Linked DNA regions of Homo sapiens: regions 1 and 3 are each linked to region 2. The links are contacts of gene promoters, found by promoter capture Hi-C in blood cells and fetal thymus (Javierre and others, 2016). All regions are on one chromosome and are shown on one strand. The core of a region is centred on a gene start or on the middle of the fragment in contact, and the rest is flanking DNA. Distances in the headings are between cores, read along the strand shown. Region 1 overlaps LY86-AS1 (LY86 antisense RNA 1). Region 2 holds the start of F13A1 (coagulation factor XIII A chain). Region 3 overlaps LY86-AS1 (LY86 antisense RNA 1).

The links. Contacts are between HindIII fragments. The CHiCAGO score rates a contact against its expected background, and 5 or more counts as called.
Region 1: a fragment that was not itself captured here is called in contact with the fragment with the promoter of F13A1 in region 2 in 4 of 17 cell types (megakaryocytes, M2 macrophages, M1 macrophages and 1 more); the score reaches 11.5 in megakaryocytes.
Region 3: a contact is called between a fragment that was not itself captured here and the fragment with the promoter of F13A1 in region 2, in 1 of 17 cell types (megakaryocytes). The highest score is 6.2, in megakaryocytes.

What each region holds. Positions count from the first base shown.
Region 1 is chr6:6,473,824-6,477,725 of GRCh38, reverse strand. All of the region lies in intron 3 of LY86-AS1 (LY86 antisense RNA 1), which reads left to right. Among named protein-coding and RNA genes, the nearest start is that of LY86, 110 kb to the left of the region's middle. The HindIII fragment of the contact is 1,385 bases long and covers 1,309-2,693 here.
Region 2 is chr6:6,318,097-6,322,040 of GRCh38, reverse strand. It overlaps F13A1 (coagulation factor XIII A chain), which reads left to right and starts at 1,379. Exons shown (of 15, transcript NM_000129.4): 1 at 1,379-1,454; 2 at 3,359-3,506. The coding sequence starts at 3,377. The region is part of intron 1 of LOC124901253 (a long non-coding RNA gene); the gene reads right to left. The HindIII fragment of the contact is 4,604 bases long and covers 1-3,664 here.
Region 3 is chr6:6,451,444-6,455,807 of GRCh38, reverse strand. All of the region lies in intron 3 of LY86-AS1 (LY86 antisense RNA 1), which reads left to right. Among named protein-coding and RNA genes, the nearest start is that of F13A1, 130 kb to the right of the region's middle. The HindIII fragment of the contact is 2,336 bases long and covers 1,870-4,205 here.

The DNA of each region.
Region 1 (3,902 bases), core at 752-3,251, 160 kb before region 2:
ATAGGAATTTGGGCAAGATAAAAGAAATCAGAGCTTAGTCCTCAGGGGGAAATATTTGTTTTGCACATGGTAATAAGTTTCAGAGTGGCCGTGCTAAGGCAATCTGACTCGTCCAAATTGTGACCCCTGTGTCCTAACTCAGAGCCACAAAACCATCCTGATTGCTAACAGACGCCATGTGGTTATAAACAGATAGAAGTCTTTCTATGTAAGGAAATGGGAAGTCGGGGGTTGTATTACAAAGGTTTGAATGTAGACAAAAACTTTTCTGATTCCCTGAACTGGAGGGCAGTTTGTCCTTTAAAGCAACTAGGTTCTCATTTCAGCCTTTGCTCAGAGGAAAAGTTACTTTTTTGGGTATTGATTTAGGTCAGTTTAATTTCTATTTGTTTGACCCACAGCTTAGATTTATTTTTCTTCTTTTGGGATTCCGTCATTTATAGCTGAAGAGGTAAAGCTTAATCTACAGCCTTGCAAAGTGAAGTCAATGATACCAAGTCTCAAGATTCCTAGTGGGATTGTCTCAGAAACCAAGAAGGAAGGGGCTTCAAACTTTTCCATTAGAAAGACATTTTCTATTGAAACCATTTATTTAATCTCTCTATGCCTCCACTTCTCCATTAATTTGTTTATGCTGTGCACTTATTTAGCTCAGCTGCCTATTTATTCAACAGATATTTGCATAGCATATATCAATGTCAAAACCAGAATTTAGCAGATTGAAAAACAAGACAAATCAATGGTCTCAGAATTTAATAACAAATGCTAGAGCTTCCAGAAGAGAGCATCTCCCATGGCCTGTCTTGGATTTTAGATCTCTGACGTAAAGGCCAGGGCTAGAATTGACTACCCCTCCCCTTATCCCCTCAGTCCTTCTGTAAGAATACTGCTTCTGCTTTACATTTTCCATATTCATAATTTCTTTTCTAATTACAAAAGTAATATGTTTATTATGGAAATTGAAAAATCCAAAAAGGTTTTAAAAAAGGAGAAAGAAAAAAATTATTCTAAAAGAGTTGCTGTGAGCATGTTAATGTAATTTCTCTCTTTTCTGTTGTTTAAAAATCTAGTCAAGAATATTTTACATAGACCACCTTATTTTCCAGTTTTCACCTAATGTTATAACATAAGCATTTCCTTTTGTTACTCTAAACTATCTATATTATTTTAATGGAGATACATTCTTCATTCTATAGGTATAACCTTATTCACTTAAGTAATCTTTTGTTTGAGAGTATCTTTTCCCTTAGTTTTGTAAGCTTTTTTCTTATAAACAATACTGCTATAGTGTTTTTGTGGATGGAAGCTTTATACAATTCAGATTTTTTTTTTTCGAAGGAAAACTCCCCAGAGTATAATTACTGGATAAAACATGAATGGATGTTTTCAAGACTATTGACATGGATTGTCAAATTACTTTCCAAAAGGGTTTTGCCATCTGCATTTCTTCTCCTGTGTCAGGATGTCTAGTTTAGCTGTGTCCATCGTTAAGGAGGTAGGATGCATAGTTAAGAACCTAGGCTCAGAACCGGATTGCTCAACTGAAGTGCTTGGTCTGCCACTTACTCTGTGATCTCGGACACTTTACTTAATCTCTCTATGTCTCTGTTCTCCCTTTGAAGAATGAAGACAAAAATAGTACTTCCTCATAGTGAGAATAAAATGAATTAATATATGCGAAGAGATTAGAATTTGCCTGGCATGTGGTATGTGCTATTTTAATATTAGCTATTATTACCCCATCTACTATCATGGATAAGACTTAGGCAAAAGATAACCGATGAAAATCTAACAGTGTCCTACATCAGGGTGTGGTGACTTGAGTAGTGTCCCCCAAATTTCATGTCTACTCTGAAACCTCAGAATGTGACCTTAGTGGAAATAGAGACTTTGCATATGTCATCAAATGAAGAGGCAGTCATACTGGGTCAGGGTGGACCCGAATCCAATGGCTGGTATCCCTACAGGAAGAGGAGGGAACACACAGAGACAGAGGAGAAGGCCCTATGAAGATGGAGGCAGAGACTGCAGTTATGTTTCCACAGCCTGAGGAACGCCTGTGGCCACCAGCAGCTGGAGGAGGCAAGGAAGGATTCTTAGAGCCTTCAGTGGAAGTATGTATGGGCCCACTGCACCTTGATTTCTGACCTCTAGTCTCCAGGCCTGTAAGAGAATAAATTTCTGTTGTTTAAAGGCATCACATTTGCATAATTTGTTATGGCAGTCCTAGAACAGTGATACACAGGGTAGATCCAAAGGTGCCATCAATAGGGAATATACACAGTTATTTACATGAAATTGGCATATCATCGCTGTGAAAGGAAAATAATTGGGGACCCCAAATCACTAAGCCAAAGGGAAAAGTCAAGCTGGGAACTGGCAAACCTGCCTCCCATTCTATTCCTACGTAAGGTTGCTACAAAAATAAAAAAAGCTACACACCTCTCTCACAATTTGCCCACAAGGAAATTCCTTGTGGACTAAAGGACAAAAGACAGAACTCAAAGTCATTCCCTTGCTCACATGAGACAAATGCACACAATTAAAGAATGCCACTGTTTGTTTCTTTTCTACCTGTGACCTGAAGCCCCCTCCCCACTTTGAGTTGTCCTGACTTTCCAGACCAAACTAATGTACATCTTACATATATTGATTGATGTCTCATGTCTCCCTAAAATGTATCAAATCAAGCTTTGTGCCGACCACTTTGCCTACGTGTCCTCAGGACGTCCTGAGGCTATGCCACGGGCGTGTCCTTAATCTTGTCAAAATAAACTTTCTAAGTTGACTGAGACCTGTTTCAGATATTTTGGGTTCACATAGCCAAGCAGAATTGACATCATTTGAGGTCACTAGGGATTCTAAACAGAGTTGCAGGCCAGCGTCTCAGGGTGATCTTCCTCGGTGACATCAGCGAGCTGACTGACCCAGGCCACCTGTTGTTCTGTGCGCCTCATCCACCCCCTCTGCTGGCCCTGGCCAGGTTCCCAAGAGCTTCTGGATGGATCTTTGTTCTAATTGGCCATTGATAACATGGGCTCATTTCCGCATCCCCTCTGTGCTAGACTGTAATGATGATTGATGCAGGTAGCAAATGGCCTAGAGTCGCCCTCACAGCCTTATTATTGCAGATACAATTACCACCAGGCTGAGCTTGCTGCTATAGTAGCTGATAATGGACTCTAATTTGCCAGTGGGGCTTGTGTTCCTTTGTTCCCAGACAGAGATCCATTTCTAAACTAGAGAGTAATTCATAAATATTTTTCTCTCCCGTCATGAGGGAAGGCCAGATTTAATTGCACAATGAAAGGCAATTCTACCCAGAAGCCACGGCAGGAGGCTGTGCTCTGCTAGGGCACGGCTCACTGATCCAGGCTGTTCATTTTGCAGAAAAGCCCTCTGAGGCCCACAGAGGTAATGTGACTTGTCCAAGGTCACACAGTGAATTAGCTAGATCTGTATGCTCTGCCACTGCCTCTCTCGCTCCTTGCGCTGGAGAGTAAAGTAGCAAAGGACCAGGTGTTTGCTCTAAGCAGCCCTTTGGACTTGAGCCACTTTGACCTCTGCTTATTTGTAATAATGATAGGAATTATTTTTCTTTAAAATAGTATACTTGTTGTTTCTATTTTGTAATAGTCAGAAGCTCATAGATGAGAATTTGGAAAATATAGAAAAATTTAAGAAAAACCATGAAGAGATGACTTCAAGTTAGCATGTTTCATTCACTTACAATTATTTTATGTATATGTAAACATTTTTAATTTTTATTTTGGATAAAATTGAGGTTATATATACAGTTTTATATTCTGTGTTTTTCCATTTATTGCAGTTTAGTTATTTTCTCACATCAAGTGCCATGCTGTATCTTCAAAAATATGTTTGTATAATATTATACAGATGAT
Region 2 (3,944 bases), core at 130-2,629:
GGGGGAGGTTTTTAAAAAAATACTGAAGAGACCTGAAATTGCATGAATGCTGAGAAGACCCACTATTAGCAAGCAGGAGCTTGAAGCTGCAAGAGGAAGAGTACGTAAGAGTCACAGCAAAGCCCCGGAGAACAAGGCAACGCAGAAGCCTGGTTTGGAGATGCAGAGGGAGGAGGGACCTTTCCAACTTCAGTAACAAGAAGAAAGAGGAAAAGATAGATAAGGTTGCAGGCAGGTTCATAGATTGGTAGCAGAAAATTGAGAGAATTTCTAACCAATGGCATCTTTTTTTTTCTTCTTTATAACATTGGGAGATTGAGTGGCAGGGTCAGAAATTTGAAGACAGTAAAGAAGGTTAGAAATAGCCATGTTTGACTGGGTGCGGTGGCTCACGCCTGTAATCCCAACACTTTGGGAAGCCAAGGAGGGTGGATCACCTGAGGTCAGAAGTTCGAGACCAGCCTGGCCAACATGGTAAAGCCCCATCTCTACTAAAAATACAAAAATTAGGCGGGCATGGTGGCATGCACCTGTAGTTCCAGCTACTTGGGAGGCTGAGGCAGAAGAATCACTTGAACCCGGGAGGTGGAGGTTGCACTCCAGCCTTTGCAACAGAGCAAGACTTCATCTGAAAGATAGAAAGATGAAAGAAAGAAAGAAAGAAAGAGTAAAAGAAAAAAATTAAAATTTTAGGGGGAAAATTTTCTAATTTTTGAACATGCACTAAAATGATTTTCAGAGAAAACCAAGTGTTATTTTCTAATCTGCATGGCATTATTAAAGATGTTTACTCATCTTCCTTGGGGCTAGGCATCCCATTCCTGCAGGAAGTCTTGTGGTTAGGCGGTGGCTGTGGCTCTGGGATGATTCAGGAATGCAGACCATGCCTTATTTGCACAGGAGGGACACGTTGCTCTCACTGCATGCATGGTCACAACTGTCTGTGTGACCTGTCTGTGGGAGGGCAGACCCCCCTCCTGCCAAGCCACAGTAGCAGCTGACCTGCCAGGCAAAAGCATTCCTTTGTAAAGGAAACCCTCCCAGACCCTCTGACCAAAGGGGACGGGTGGGGACTTCCTGGCACTGCAGGGCCCCTTGCCTGGTACTCCCAGCAACTGGTTGCGGTGGGGAGGGCAGATCTAGGGATGGGGATGGGGAGGAGAAGTGGGAATGGGAAATTGGGAGTCAGAGGGGCAAGTGGGAGAGAAGGGCGCACCTGCCGGGATAACAGGCCAGATGAAGTAAATAGAAAATCCTCTGAGCTCCCCTACTGGCTCCAGCTGTGGAGAAGGGGGAGGAGAAAACCCTGTGGGACAGGGGAGGAGGGTGAGGGCTCCTCTTAGGAAGTTATTTAAGAGCCAACTGTCTTGTCTTTCCCGAGTCCGTTTGAGGAAGTCCCCGAGGCGCACAGAGCAAGCCCACGCGAGGGCACCTCTGGAGGGGAGCGCCTGCAGGTAAGCCACCGACCCTGCACCCTATGAGCCAGGGCCCGCTGCGTCCACCTTCTGCACCTCGGTTTCCTGGTTGAACCAGCAAGCGGCTTGCTCTGGGCCCTGTGGCGCCGGTCACAGGCAGCTCCACTTGCCCAATCCTGGCTTCCCGCCCCCAACTCCGCACCTGCCCAGCCCAGCTTCTAAGCGGGACTTCTCTCAGGCTCTCGAGGCAGCTCTCCCGAAGCCGTTGCTTGCTTAGAATGCCACCAAATGGGGATGGGGGAGTTGGAGGTGCTTCCCCAAGGGACGAGCCCCCTTTCCTCAGGGAGCAGATTATGGAGCTGGAACACAAAAGGTGGAGGGAGTGGGGCCAAGTGAGAACAGCCTGCTAGACTGGAACCCCGCCGGCTTGGCTCCCCACTCCTGCGCGCCTCCCCACTCCTGCGCATCGCCTGCCTCCGTCCCAATTTGGAGCTGAACTCGAGCCACTTCTCCTCCTTAGACCCGCCCAGAAGCGAGGGCTCCTGCCCGCCGCACTCACCCAGCCAGGCGTGCACCTGGGGCTCCCCCCTTCTCCCCCTTAGCACTGTGTCTCCCGACAGCGCGCCACACTGTTCTGCACCCCTGGCAATGCCGCAGCCTACCTTCGGTATTTCTCACTAGAGGATGGCTCTCGCAGCCTTCTCCCTATCATTAACCCTTTTTCGCTCTTCTCCCTCCCTTCCCCCGTCAGCTCACCAATGACTGTAAATATATTTATCTATACTTATGGATACCCATTCACACCTTATGCATCCAAACACTCCTGTCTCCTTCTCAGACCAGACACCTTAGGCGTGGTTGTCTTTTCTCCAGCATGTTGTTAGTGCTCCACATGTCTCTGGAACCATCTCTCTACTCTGGTGGCCTCTATAATGGGGACTCTTCACCTCTTGGGGGTGTGCCTGGTTTTTGAAAATAGCCAAGTCTCCAGGAGTCATGACTGGGTAATCCAGGGGATCAAGGGGGAACCTTCACTGGGCCCAGAAACAAAGTCCCCCTTCATTTGGTCATTTGGTCAACAAGTACTTACTGGGCACTGACCGTCAGGTGTGTGTTGTTTAAACTGGCTCAGTGCCTGCACAAGCTCCAAGGGAAGGGGAAGCAGGCTTGGGGAATGGGAAATGTTGGCAACCCTGACTTCTTAAGCCTATTGATAGCCCTATTGAAAATTGCATGCCCAACCTCTCCACCTCCTTATCCTCCTCCATGTGGCTCAATTTCCAAAGCAGTTCCTACCTCCTCACCCCTAAGTGGATTTACTTATGGCTCTTCTTGGGCTCCACCCTAACCCTATCAGACTATAATCTATCAGAGCAAACATTCTGTTTTGTTCTCTGATGTATCCCATGTACCTAGATCACAGCCTGGCATGTCATAGGCCCTCAATAAATATTGGTTGAATTAAATTGCAAATGTAAACGCTTTAGAAGACAACATTTGTCTGGACATGGTTGTGTGCGTTTATTCTTAAAAGTGACTTATAATCTCATAAATCTGTATGAAATGAACATAGATACAGCACATGCATATAACAGGAAACATTTCTTGCGAAGATGCTGCTGTAGGATTATGGAGGGTGGGGGAATCTGGGTCTCCAAAAATCTTTTAATTTTTAAATTTCTTTGAATAAGCCCCTTTTCTTCTGCTTTCCATATGTTTTGACACATACAAAAATCTCCCCAAGATCCTTGGGGAACTGTATTCCATCATTAGACTAATCCTTGCTGCCACTTCTCAGTTTTTATTTATGCAAACGGCAAAATGTGTTGCTCAAGTGCTATCACACACAGATATATCTGTTTCTCTATTTTGGAATCCTTGTCTCAAATGTTACTCACTTTACATGCCTTTTCTGTTGTCTTCTTTTTTTTTTTTTTCTGAAGGACCTTGTAAAGTCAAAAATGTCAGAAACTTCCAGGACCGCCTTTGGAGGCAGAAGAGCAGTTCCACCCAATAACTCTAATGCAGCGGAAGATGACCTGCCCACAGTGGAGCTTCAGGGCGTGGTGCCCCGGGGCGTCAACCTGCAAGGTATGAGCATACCCCCCTTCCCCACCACTCTGGGTCCAGGCACAGCCGGGCCCTGGCCCCTCTTCCCTGCAGGTAAACATCCTCTGTCTCCACTGGGGTTCCCACAAAAGGAAGCCCCCTGCCAATCTCTGGTTTTATAAAGGAAGAAAGCAAAAGCTTTCTTTTAAGTGGTGAAAGCACCGAAGACCCAGAGCCTTGTCCCAGTTCTGCCCCTTACTGACCTTGTAACCTCAGAGAAGTTGCTTTGTCTTTCTGCCTCTCAACTATTTCCTCTACAAAACCAGAGTGCTGGATTAGCTAGGGCCTCTTCCAGCCCTACTGCTCAATGCTTTAGAGAATTTTCTCTAGCTGGAATATTCCACTTCCAAAATATTGTGGCTGTTTTGATTGTCTGGCTTGCACCTCCTTCCTTCTCCCTCCTCCCTCCTCCATCCATTG
Region 3 (4,364 bases), core at 1,788-4,287, 130 kb before region 2:
ATGTTACAAGGAACAAGTAAATTGACACCTAGATATTATTCAATAAATCTTCTTAGAATAGCATATCATTATATTAATTATGCTCATTTGGTCAGTTACTTTGTTATTCAGAGTAATTAACAGGTAAATCTTAATTGACAAAAGACATATCTTAAAATCTCAGCAGCTTAACCAGTAAATGTTTATTTCCTATCACCTCTCTATCTGATTCTGGCAGAGAGGGCTCCTCCATCTGAAACGCATGGCCTCCATGAGACTGAAGCAAGATCTCCCTGGCCAGAGCCCAGTCACATGGCCCCAACTTGGGGGGCTGAGGAACTCAGAGGAGTGCACGATGTTTGGAGAGCACTTGCTTTCTCTGCCACAGTGATTCACCATATGCTCATCAATATTGATTGAGCAACTATTACATAAATTGGATGCTTTTTGGTAGGGAAAATCACCAACATTAGAATCAGACACATCTGATCATGATTCCCTACTTGCTGGATATTAATAATTAGCAAGTTTCTACACCTCTCTGAGTTTTATTTTTCACATCCATAAAATAAGAGTAATTATATTAAACCCCATAGGATGATTATATGTACCAAATAAGATACATATATAAAGTTCTTTGCACAATAGTGACATGAATAAATGCTGGGTTTCTTTTGCCATGCCTGCAGGGTTTTATTGGCAGAGTTATACAAGACAGAAAGATTTCTAAGTAATGGTCCCCATCCTCAAAGAGCATGCAAACTTGGAGATAGCAGTAATGCAAGTACACAAATGCTTAAAATAAAAGGCCTTATGAAAGAGCTATAGAGTTGATAGAAATAAGAGGTTCTAATGAGAACACATGGACACAGGGAGGGAAATAACACACTGAGGCCTTTCAGGGGTGGTGCAAGAGAAGGGAGAGTATTAGGACAAATAGTTAATGCATGAGGGGCTTAAAACCTAGATAATGAATTGATAGGTGCAGTAAACCACCATGGCACATGTATACCTATGTAACAAACCTGAACCTTCTGCACATGTATCCCAGAACTTAAAGTAAAGAAAAAAAAGATTCTTATTTAAAAAAAGGAAATAAGAGGTTCTATAAGAATTTAAAGGAAAAACTGTCACTTCTGGCTGTAGAAGGCTTTCTGGGGGAAGTTACATTTGAGCTTTGTTTGGAAGAATGGAGAGGACTTCAAAGTAAGATGGGAGGATTTGAGAATTGTATGTTGTATTAGTCAGAGTTCTTCAGAGAAACAGAATCAATAGGATGGATGGATGGATAGATAGATAGATAGATAGATAGATAGATAGATAGATAGATAGATAATAGATAGATAGATAAAGATATATGAGGGGATTTATCATGGGAACTGGCTCCCATGGTTATGGAGGCTGAGAAGTCCCATGATAGGCTGTCTGCAAGCTGGAGAACCAGGGAGCCAAGGCTGTGACTCTCAGTCTGAGGGCAGGTGGAGGTGCTGGTAAAAGTCTTGTAGCCCAAATGCTGGAGAACCTGGAGTTCTGATGTCCAAAGGCAGGAAAAGATGAGCGTTGTATCTGCAGAAGACAGAGAGCAAATTTGTCCTTCCTCCACCTTGTTGTTCTATGTGGGCCCTCAGCAGATTGGATGATGTCCACCCACGTTGGTGAGGGCTGATCGTTTTTGCTCAGTCCACTGCTTCAAATGCTAATCTCTTCCAGAAATGCCTGGAAATAATGTTTAACCTGCTATCTGGGTGTCCCTTAATCCAGTCAAGGTGACACCTGAAATGAACTATCACGTATGTAGAAAGAAGCATTTGAGTAAAGGGACAAAATTTTTAAAATTTATAAACTATTTAGTGGACCAGAAATAGATCAATTTTGACTGCAAGGGAAGCTTAGGATAGGGGAATGGTGAGAAATAAGGCTGAAAAAGATAAAGTGTCGATGGGGTGGGGAGGTCTTGAATGAATGTTTGTAGATGGAGTTTGGACGTGATCTGGTAGGTAATTGGCGGATAATTACAGATACAGACATTTTAAGGAGTAGAGTAATAGCATCAATGTGATGTATGTAGAAAGAGACAAAACTTGATGACAAGTAAATAATAACCAAAGTATTTTCCCTTCTCTCTAGCAGGGAAGAGAACCAAGAGAAAAAGGATCTTAGAAAATGTTTAATCCACTCGTGATAACTTGTAGATAAAAAAAATTGACATCAGAGAAATTACGTGACTAGCCTGAGGTTACTTGATGAAGCAGGAATGGGTACAAGATGTTCTGATGTCATCATTTTGATGCTGTCACTTTAGTGAGTTCTTTTCAATGCTTTGTTAACATTCTAATAGCCCAAAGCAACCTGGGATTCTCAGGCTGCCTCTGTCTTTCCTCTGAGGAGGAAACTAGCCCGAATGCCCTTGACATACCAGTGACTTAGCTTTCTAGGATTCCCAGATATGATTCTATTTTAATTCACTCAGTATCTGTTTGTTGACCACCTAGTGTATGTCAGGCACTGCATTTGGTGCTGTGGATACAACAAGGTTAACTTTGTGAGATTTCTGCCCTTAGATAAAGCATGTGGAAATTCAGAGAAGTAGGAAAATATTTTAGCTGAGGTTTTTCAGGAGGAAACCTAAGGAAAGAATGGCTTGAAGGTCAGGTTCACAAAGGAATGAATTTCTAAAGTTAGATATCCACAACCGGTGAAAACTGGCAACGGGGAGATATCTGAGACACCCTTCAAACTGCTCCAGTAAGAGCTTGTCTACTTCCCCTGCCTGTATAAGCAACCTTGGTTCCTAGTGGGTATATGTGTGGGACATTACAAGTACACATAAAAAATATTTGTACACACACATGCTTCTCTCTAATACTTATAAACTCATCGCAGTGGAAATTCGTTCCTTCCCCCTGCCCGCCGGTTGTCCATCATCCAATTCCCCCACTTCCTGCTCTCACCTCCCCACCTTTGGGACATCACTAGATAGTTGTCTGACCTTAGGATGAGAACCATGTTTGTGGTGATGGATAAATTTCCAGGATATTAGGAAAATCAGGTAGGATTTCAATGTTGATTTTTTTCTTGGTACCCTGGAAACTTATCCGTGACCACATTAATTGTTCTCATCCTAAGGTCCGGCAACTGCCTGTCAGTTGTTATCCATGCTGTCCCAAAGGTGGGGAGGTGGGAGCAGTCCACTCTGGGCTGCAGACAACAAGGAGCCACACAGTCTGTAGAATGCTTAAATATAATAACAAAACCAACTGAAAGCCCATCTCCTTATCATCCCCATGTGACTTCCACCAAAGTCTCAGTTCTAACAATTGCTTGCCGCAGAGCAAACTGCTCCCCTGCGTCACCCTGGACCCCCAGGGGTCAGGCCCAGCTTCCACCTTTCAGAGCCTGCTGAGAGGTATCAGTTCAGAGAATTCCCCCACCACCCCCATTCCCTCCCTACATCCTATCCTCGCTGATTGGGAGAAGGGAGGAGCACCTTTGGGGGAAATGCAGTGTTTGGGAGGGAGTGTCATTTGTTCCAGTCACCACCCAATTGGGAGAAAGGGACAGGCTTTCCAAAGCCAAGGGAGCATTCCAGCCACCCCTCCCTCTCCCTCCGAGGCTATCTGTGTCACCAGCCAACTTTCTGATCTGTTCCTAGTGACTAGAACAGAAGGAAAACAAATAACAGGGTAGAGAAGGCATGGCATTTCCAGGCAAAGTGAGGTTAGGAACTTCCCTTCCCCTGCAAATTTACCAGTTTCCAAGAGGCACAGTGCCTACAGCCTGAGAGGTGTCCACAGAGAGATTGCACAGGAACTGCAATCTTGCCAGGACTATCACTGAATGCTGGTGGTGGTTAGGGGACAGGGGTGGGTGGTAAAAAGTGGGGAGGCAGGATAGCAGGGAGGGGGAGAAGGGAGCCAAAACAGCTTGTTCCCACCAGCTTCTGGGTCAGTCAGAAGACATAGCCCAGTGTTCAGGAGGGCTCCCCTCATCTGTGTGGTGTGCTGGAGCCCACCACCTGGCCACATGTGGCACATGAACACACACAAAGCCATAGTTATAGCTAGGTAGGTCCAGGACACACTTGCTCTCCTCTCTGCCTGTACTGAGGGATGCAGGAATTACATTAATAGTTTCAAGTTTTAAGTAAAATATCCCTGCAACTGAGAATCCCACATCCTGTGTTTCCCCATCTAAGTGCACCCCAAGGTAGGCATGTGATTCAAGCTTGGGCATGCAGGTGCCCCTCTGGGCACATTTACTTTCAATGAATGAGGGAACACACAGGCTGGCTGGAGGCATATTCAGTGAGGGGACAGCAATAGGGTTCCTGCTAGAAGACCTTGGCTGTGGTGGCTTGTCCAGCCCATGAGAGCTCTCTCAGCTGC